3 separate regions of the Homo sapiens genome follow, and regions 1 and 3 are each linked to region 2. Evidence: promoter capture Hi-C in human tissues and cell types (Jung and others, 2019). All regions are on one chromosome and are shown on one strand. The core of a region is centred on a gene start or on the middle of the fragment in contact, and the rest is flanking DNA. Distances in the headings are between cores, read along the strand shown.

Region 1 (3,065 bases), core at 148-2,647, 55 kb after region 2:
ATGGCCCTAGAGCAGAGCACAAGCTCCTGAGGGGCCTGGAGACCATGTGTTCCGTGGCCTTCCTCAGCCTCTTCTGCCCTCACACTCCATAAATCTGAATTTGATGAGGACGGGCAATGATTGGAGATGCTCCCTAGCGAGGCAGTGCCAAGACCCCTGCCCCGGAGGGTCTGTCAGCGCCTGTGATGAAGTAATTGAAGGGGGGACAGCTGCATGTGTCTCAGTAAACAGATGAACTCAGTCAACACCCTCAACAGCAACCAGCACAGAAGAGCAAACCCATGAGGCCACCTGGCTCTGGGGCCAGCACATGGAGCAGGAAGAAGAGACCCTCCCATCCCACCCCTCAGATCACTCTCAGGAAAACAACTCCCAGAGAGGTGAAGCGACTTGCCTGAAGTCACGCATCCAGCCTCTGGTAAAATTCAGGCCTAGAGCCAAAGTCTCTGAGATCCCATTCAACTACTTATCCACCAGACTAAGTCTGGAGGAATCACAGCCCTAACACCTCCAAGTCTGCCGCAGTCCTCCATGAGAGCCCCAGGGTCAAGGGGAGTACTCAAGGTCATGCAGTCCAGTCTCCCACTTCTCTGCAAAAGAGCTTGGTCCCTGAATGCAGGTGACATGTTGGGTGCAAAAAGTCTTGAATTTAGACTAACTGATTTGTGCTGTGACTGAGGCAGCTGTCTCATTCTGAGCTTCTCTTGTTTTCTCTGTTCAGTGGGGAAAATAATAAAATTCCTGGCCCATTTGACCTGGGATTTTTTAAAATCACAGAATCTCCCAGTTTCTAGTTGGAATTCAAAAAAAAAATTTGTTGAGTGAATCCTGATACTGGAGCCCGTTCCAATTGAGTTCACATACAACCAGGAGAGCACGTGAGGAGCATTACAGTCAGACCAGCTCCACCTTGGTCTATGAGGGTGGGAGAGTCAGTGTCATTGCCACATAGAGGAGTAGAAGGGAGGCGGAGGAGTTAGACCACTTTTCCTTGGGGTTTCAGACGGTGCTTTATGAGCCTGGAGTGCTGGGACCTCATTCAAGGCAAGGCACTGTGCTTTCCTGTCTCCTGGGTAAGTCACTGAACCTCATTGAGCCTCAGTTTCTTCATCCACAAAACAGTGACAAAAATCTCTCCCTTATTGGGAGGCAGCAAGGACTAGATGAAATAATGCACTTTGTCAAGCACTGTGACACAATGTGAGCCATTGCTACTCTGTTTACTGATGACTGTTAATGCAGGGAACCATTTAAGCTGACACTTGTGATGGATCCTTATTCCCAAGGTCATTCAGAAAAATTCAGTGCTTCCTGCAAACCCCCTTCGGACTAGGGCTGTACCTACACCTCCAGATGGCATCCAGCTGTCCACTGTCCACTACACTGGTAGGGTCTGCTCTGCAGATTCCTGGCTGCACCTCGCAGTATTGCTCCGCACAAGGGGGCGACAGCGGAGGGCTGCGAAGTGCATCGGCGATGCACATCTGCCATGCGCGAGTGCAGGGATGGGCAACAGTTCCAGCCTGGCCCTCTGCACCTTAGATGCTTTTTCTCGCAGCGTGCCCAGCGATCATGTTGGAAGGTCTCCAGGGGGACAGGCTGCAAGAGGTGGATGCTCCTTTCCCTGTTTTCCTCCACCCCTATTCCTCCTCCTCTCCGTCCCTATCTTTAAAGAGTCTACACGGTTCCTTTCTTCTCTCTTCCTTTCTTACTAACTTGAACATTTTAATCAATATGGCACCTCTCTGGGGTCTCCACACTGTCACTGCAATTTGCTGTGGTTCGGTGGGTGAATTTTCTTTCGCCTTTTAGCGGGAAACAGAATGATTTCCATGATAGAAGCCGACTGGTCCGGAGAGGCCTCTACACAAAGAGCACTATGAAGAAAGGAGACAGCTGGCTGAAAAGAGAGAAGGGATTTGGGGAATTGAAATGCCTTATGATATTGGACTTAAACGTGGAAAATTCACTGCTCTGCATTGCTCAAATGCCTCTGAATTAGAGCAGAAGGGCTATCAGTTAATTTTCTAACTCTGGGTAGGAATTTCTGGCCCAGAACTTTGCAGGATTTTTTTGTTTTCCCTGACTGGTACGGTGTCCATCTACACTCATCACTTCCTTTATGGTCTGGACTGACCCATGGCCTGCTCAGCTGGCAGGGCTGTGGCTGGTTATCCCTCTGCCTTCAGGGAGGATGGCATTCAAATCACTGCAGAAGAGATGCTGCCTCTAGTTACCTTCAGCCACCTCTTCAGGAACAACGACCTGGGACACCTTTGTGAAGTAGTATGGCATATTGGGAAGAGCACAGGACAAAGGACAGAAGATGGGGTTTCCATCCCACCTGCCACTTACCTGCTGATGGCCTAGGAATGATCACTTCTCCCTCTGATCTGCTTATCCCTCAGCTGTGAAGCAAGGGATAAGGTTTTGACCTTTTTTCCTGAGGTCACTGGGGAGCCCATACAGTTCCAAGTAGGGTTTTGAGGATCAGATTTCCTTGAGGAGTTATTGACCCAAAGAGTTACAGCAGAACAACTGGGAAGTTTGGAAGTTAAATTTTTAAATGCTTTTTACAGTAACCCTATCATACTTAATTGCATTCTGTAGTTCAGCTGCCCCTATTATTTTTAACACTTAAATACCTTTATTTATGCACACTTTTCTACGCATAAGAGTTTTACCTCTGCCTCCTAGAACTTGGAAGTAAGTATTAGGACTAGATCATCTCTAAATTTCCTACCCTCGAACTCCAATTTTGCTGTAAATCCTGAATCCAGTTGAGCACAATTCAGACTGGAAATGTTATGGGTCTTGGTTTCTAAACCTACTTTTTCACAACCCTTTCCTTCTGTGACTTGCCCCACGGTGAGCTCCTGTCAGCAGACAGCTGCAAACATCAGCAGGGTTTGACTTCTAATGTTCACAGTCTTTTCTATGGACTTAACCCAATGTAAGATCACCTCTGCTGCTGTTTGATCTCCTTTTCCCTTTCCTTTCTGCTTCACTGTGGCCTATTTTCAGTCTCACTCTTGAATAGATTGGTTCCGGCAAATGTTTGTTTC
Region 2 (2,893 bases), core at 164-2,663:
CATTCAAAAACACAGCCACTTTATGATAATTTAAAACCAAGAAACTTCTGGAGACTGTGTCTGGCAGTTCCAGACACACACCTTGAAACAGATTCCTCTTGGTTACCAATGCCTGCTAAAACCCTGCAGGGGTTGAGACAGGGCAGGGGAAGATTTCCTAGTGTCCCAACCTAGAAAGATTAATATGTTATATCAGCCATCATCCTGCCTTCTGCAGCAGGGAACTAAAGTTCTCAGGCCAGATGTTGGAGTGAGGGAGTGCTTGTATCAGGAAAAGGGATTATGCATTTCTATAGAGGAGTGAAATATAGGGGACAAGGGCCAAACTCTGATTGTTTGAGTTTGAGTTCCAGCATCATCAGTTTCCACCTGCATAAGCCTGGGTGAGTCTGTCAATCTCTCTGTGCCTCAGTTTCTTCATTTATAAAATGGTGATGATAATAGTACTTACAAAATAGGTTGCTGTAGGAATACACAGAGACAATATTTGTAAAGTGCTGAGAGTGGGCTGGTGCATAATGAGAGCCAAGTAAGTATTGGTTGTTATTATTCCATTCTTGGGAATGCTCCAGCCTTGGAGATTGGACAACCTCCCTGGCTCCCTCTCATAAGCCACCTCCACCCTCAGTCTCCTTCATGGACCTAGATGCAGTTGCTCGGTCCAAGATTCACCAGGCAGGATTAGCCCTCACCAGGATTGTAAAAATCGCTTCTCCCCTTCCCTGCTGTGGTTTTTGCAAATGGGATTCGTTGGAGCGGGTGGAGGGGTTCTGCTGGGTTGAGACCAGACAGCTCATCTCCTGACTAGGCTGCTTGCCTGGGCTGCCACCAGGTCTGTACTGGAAACAGGCTAGGGCATGGGAATCCTGCAGGGTTCCAACCCCCTTGTACATTTTTGTGGATCTGTAGGAAGACGGGAAGAGAGATGCTTCTCCATTGATACATGTATTTCAAGGTCCGTAACTACGTGGCCCCCCTCCCTTCTGTAATCCTTCCCAAAGAAATACCGTTATTTCTCCAAAATAAAAAGGACTGGTGTCTCCCGTCTCTGTCTCTCATACTCCGACTCAGCTCAAAGCCTCGTCCCTTTAGCCCAAGGCACTTCGTTCCTCCTGGAGTCCACTCGGCTTCCAGCGGGTTCCCAGGTGAACTGAAATCCAGAGCTATTCTCATCTGGTTGCCCTGGGAATTTCAGCGCTGTCGGTACAACCTGTTCCTCCATCCTCCCCACTCCTTCCCTCCCTCCGCTGGGCTGCACCCTTCTCAGCCCCTCCTTTCCCTTGCTAGGGGCCCCAGCTGCGCCCTCCGGGGAGACACCCGCTGCCACGAGACCCGGGAGGGGAAGCGGGAGGAGGGGGAGAGGAGGGGAAGGCGGGGGAGGCGCCGAGGGTGGAGGCCAAGCGCGGCGCAGCCAGAGAGGGGCGGCTGAAGGTTGCATCTGCTGGAAGGAGGCTTTTCGGCTGCTTGGTAACGGGCTGCCAGAAGAGAGAGAGGCAGAGAGCAGGGCAGCGGCTTCTTGACGTCAGGGCCAAGCGAGGGGATCGCGCCAGCAACCCCAGCTCTCCCCAGAGAGGGGCCGGCCGACCGCTGGAGCGGAGCCTGACGCCAGGCGCCCGCGGAGCGTGAGTAGGGGGCGCGGGAGCCGGTCAGCTGGGGCGCAGCATGCCCTCTGCTCCCGCGCCATGGAGATCGCCCTGGTGCCCCTGGAGAACGGCGGTGCCATGACCGTCAGAGGAGGCGATGAGGCCCGGGCAGGCTGCGGCCAGGCCACAGGGGGAGAGCTCCAGTGTCCCCCGACGGCTGGGCTCAGCGATGGGCCCAAGGAGCCGGCGCCAAAGGGGCGCGGCGCGCAGAGAGACGCGGACTCGGGAGTGCGGCCCTTGCCTCCGCTGCCGGACCCGGGAGTGCGGCCCTTGCCTCCGCTGCCAGAGGAGCTGCCACGGCCTCGACGGCCGCCTCCCGAGGACGAGGAGGAAGAAGGCGATCCCGGCCTGGGCACGGTGGAGGACCAGGCTCTGGGCACGGCGTCCCTGCACCACCAGCGCGTCCACATCAACATCTCCGGGCTGCGCTTTGAGACGCAGCTGGGCACCCTGGCGCAGTTCCCCAACACACTCCTGGGGGACCCCGCCAAGCGCCTGCGCTACTTCGACCCCCTGAGGAACGAGTACTTCTTCGACCGCAACCGGCCCAGCTTCGACGGTATCCTCTACTACTACCAGTCCGGGGGCCGCCTGCGGAGGCCGGTCAACGTCTCCCTGGACGTGTTCGCGGACGAGATACGCTTCTACCAGCTGGGGGACGAGGCCATGGAGCGCTTCCGCGAGGATGAGGGCTTCATTAAAGAAGAGGAGAAGCCCCTGCCCCGCAACGAGTTCCAGCGCCAGGTGTGGCTTATCTTCGAGTATCCGGAGAGCTCTGGGTCCGCGCGGGCCATCGCCATCGTCTCGGTCTTGGTTATCCTCATCTCCATCATCACCTTCTGCTTGGAGACCCTGCCTGAGTTCAGGGATGAACGTGAGCTGCTCCGCCACCCTCCGGCGCCCCACCAGCCTCCCGCGCCCGCCCCTGGGGCCAACGGCAGCGGGGTCATGGCCCCGCCCTCTGGCCCTACGGTGGCACCGCTCCTGCCCAGGACCCTGGCCGACCCCTTCTTCATCGTGGAGACCACGTGCGTCATCTGGTTCACCTTCGAGCTGCTCGTGCGCTTCTTCGCCTGCCCCAGCAAGGCAGGGTTCTCCCGGAACATCATGAACATCATCGATGTGGTGGCCATCTTCCCCTACTTCATCACCCTGGGCACCGAACTGGCAGAGCAGCAGCCAGGGGGTGGAGGAGGCGGCCAGAATGGGCAGCAGGCCATGTCCCTGGCCATCCTCCGAGTCATCCGCCT
Region 3 (3,144 bases), core at 557-3,056, 39 kb after region 2:
GCTTACGCTAGCCCAGCTCAGCACATGTCCATAACTCTAAGTCCCAGACGACACCGTGTTGCATGATTCCTTTCTAGACAAGAAAGCCATTTATTGGAATTAGCAGAGAGAATCTCTCACCAGTCCAGACTTTCCCATGGGGTTCTACTGATGCGGAACCAAAAGCGGCAGACAGGAAAATCCCTTTTCTCTGTGTTCCCTGCTCTATGGCGAGAGGACCGAGGCACCTAGGAGCTTCATTCCTAAGACGCTCCATCCTTGGAGGCTGCCACTCTTTAGCCCCTCCTCCCCTGCCTGGGAACGTGCTTGGGTCTCTCTTCACAGTTCCCCATTGGCTGGCGGAGTGCTCGGATGGACAGTGACCGTCTGGTGACCCAGCAGGGCGGAGGGAAGCTTTGGATGAGAATCCTCGGCTTCCCTGAGGACGCCTGAGGGTGGGGAAATAATCTCCCTTCTTCTCCAGCCATACAAGTTGCTTATCCCAGTTTCAGCTTTCTATGGTTTCAAAGATATATCCAGCTTTATCTGTTATGACGTAATTGAGGTGGAGGTAGAGGAGTTCAAGAAACGGAAGGGGGGTATCAGCTAGTTTGTGGGGATTTTCCTTTGTAGACCAGTATTAATGTGCGAAGCCCTTAACACCGAACAAGAGAAACCAGGGTTTTATTAATGTTAAAATTTCAGATAGAAGGTATGCTTTGGCGTGGAATAGGATCATTGTCGACATTGACGAAATAACACAATACATTGGGATTTTGAGAGATAGAAAAGAGGAAAAAGGAATTTCTCATCTTTCATAGAGAGAGGTTAACAGATACTGTCCACATTTGCAAGGAAATACTAATCTTAAAATTCTAAGTATTTTAAAAGTTTATTTATGTTTAAAGTAATTTTAGGTATGTTATTTAATGTCACAAAGATAAGTACTAGGGAAAAATTAAAATAGTTACTGATAAAAATTAAGATCCAGCGAGGAGAGGGTATGAGGTTGCAGAATTCAACAAATTCCCTATCTGTGACACTTGGTAGACAACAATTTCTGTTAAAATTAGGTAAATCAGCAATAGAAGCATAAACATTTTGTTTTCTACTAAGATGGTAACCATGAGAAGAACAAAAGCCAGAAACTAGTCATTGCGGTTATCTCTGGAGGGCAGAGGAGGGAGAATTTTCTTGTTTCATGTCTTTCTGTGATGTAGCTATTTTTTAAGATCATGGGCATGCAATTATTTCTATAATAATAAAAACCACTTAATGCATTTAATGGGTCAGAGATAATTGTATCTTGGTCAGCAGAATCTAGACAGAGAAATGTTTTGATTTCTGGGACTGCCAAATCTGTCTTCTTAAGCAAGATAAAGCCATGGAGGTCAGGAGGGATAAGCTGGCACTCTGTGACAGCCGGGTGGGAGAGGGGGCAGATAAGGCTCACCTTGCTCCAGCGGAGGGAGCATGGGAGTGAAAGAAGAAGGCCGAGTGCGTGTTAAAGGGTCAGGCTACTGCGGGCACATTGTTTCTTCAAGGGTCAGGAATATTGTGTCTAGGAAGACTATCTGGAGAATAAGAATTTTTCTACCTAGAGAACAGGAAAAAGATTAGAGAAACAGACACACACACACACACACTCACACACACACACACTCACACACACACGCTAGAATGTTGTTACTGTATTTTTCTCTTGGTTCTGTGGTTCCCCACATTCAGTAATTGGCCTTTCTGACTATTTCAGGGCCCTATATCGGAGCCCTTAATTTCTTTAAATTAAGAAATAGTCTAGAGAAAACAAAAGACAAAAGATGTGTTAGCTCAGATGCCATTCTGTGAAAAGGAAGCATTCCCCAGCACAGGTGAGATTCCTACTTATGTAGAATGATGGCAAATACAAGCTGAGACTCTAGTTCCTGACTCTTAATAGGGAGCTCTTTGTTCCAAAGGAAACTTCTTCTGCAGTGTCCCTAAAAACCACAGTGCCAGCGCCCCATCCTTCTGCAATTCCCACTGTGCCCTGACCATTGCCTATGCTTCACAAAGCTTTGTCTAGGAGCCTGAGGCTTTGGTCCTTTAGGAACCTCAGTAGATAAGCTGGAGTTTCCCAGTAGGTTTCCAAAGTGGTACTCAAATTTCTGATTTATTCTTCATTCATTTTAACATAGAAAGATGTCCTTTTCCTTCCCCCCTGACTAAGGTACCAAGAACTTGCTCAGGTTCACCATGGGAGGGTGGAAAAGCCCTCAGGACTGTGCAGCCAGTGGGAACATACACCATCGTCCTTCTGCAAAGCACCTCTCCCTTCCCCATCCTCCAAAACGCATTGGCCCAAACCACCACCTCCAGCCTTGATGTTGAAAATCCAACCCCCATGTTGGGCTATACATGTGTCAACCCTCACTGATGCTTTTAATTTCATCTCCTTCTGTTTTTTATGCATCATGTACTAACCTTCTTTCTGGACATTGTGTAAGCTTATGCCTCTGTGTCTTGGCACCACTTCTCCTCTGTGCCCGGAATGGCCTTCTTTGCCTCTCAGGTTTTCAAAACTTTACTTGATGACCCCTCAGGCCATTAACTGGTGTATCCTCTGGGCTGTTAGAGCACTGTATGTTAGTCTTGGCACCTTGTATCTCATTCATGTGTCAGTCATCTTCCAGATTCCCTTAAGGTCAGAAACTTGTGTCTCATCAATCTCTATGCCCAGCCCCTGGCACAGCAGCCATGCCATCCCCAGCACACACCAGGAGGCTCCCACATGTTGTAGGTGTGAAGATGAGCTTTGAGGTCTAACTGAGTAGAAGTCCCAACTCTGCCACTTACTTGCTGTGGGACTGGGGCAAGTTAATACTCCGTGCAATGAGGATTGCCTCCACTTCATTGGTTTGCTGTGATGATGAAATCAGATTGTTCCTGTAAAATGCTTTGTGCATGTATTATGTACTCAGTCAAATTTACCTATAATTATTAAATGAAAGGAATGTAGTGCACAATTTCAGATTTTTTTTCTGCCCACATTTTCTCTTATCTTTTCTAAAATTCCTAAACTAGGTAGCAAGAGCTGCAAGAACTTTCAGAGCTTGGAGACAGGCCCTAAAATCACAAGAATAAACCAACCTTCATGTGCTCCAAAATATGCCTCCTGGGTTGGAA

The links. Contacts are between HindIII fragments. The study calls those that stand out against the background at their distance.
Region 1: a fragment that was not itself captured here is called in contact with the fragment with the promoter of KCNA5 in region 2 in 1 of the 25 tissues and cell types used here (heart left ventricle).
Region 3: a fragment that was not itself captured here is called in contact with the fragment with the promoter of KCNA5 in region 2 in 2 of the 25 tissues and cell types used here (aorta and pancreas).

What each region holds. Positions count from the first base shown.
Region 1 is chr12:5,097,911-5,100,975 of GRCh38, forward strand. No RefSeq gene overlaps it. Among named protein-coding and RNA genes, the nearest start is that of KCNA5, 56 kb to the left of the region's middle. The HindIII fragment of the contact is 8,875 bases long and covers 1-3,065 here.
Region 2 is chr12:5,042,466-5,045,358 of GRCh38, forward strand. It overlaps KCNA5 (potassium voltage-gated channel subfamily A member 5), which reads left to right and starts at 1,414. Exons shown (of 1, transcript NM_002234.4): 1 at 1,414-2,893. The coding sequence starts at 1,683. The HindIII fragment of the contact is 15,094 bases long and covers 1-2,893 here.
Region 3 is chr12:5,080,888-5,084,031 of GRCh38, forward strand. No RefSeq gene overlaps it. Among named protein-coding and RNA genes, the nearest start is that of KCNA5, 39 kb to the left of the region's middle. The HindIII fragment of the contact is 3,219 bases long and covers 198-3,144 here.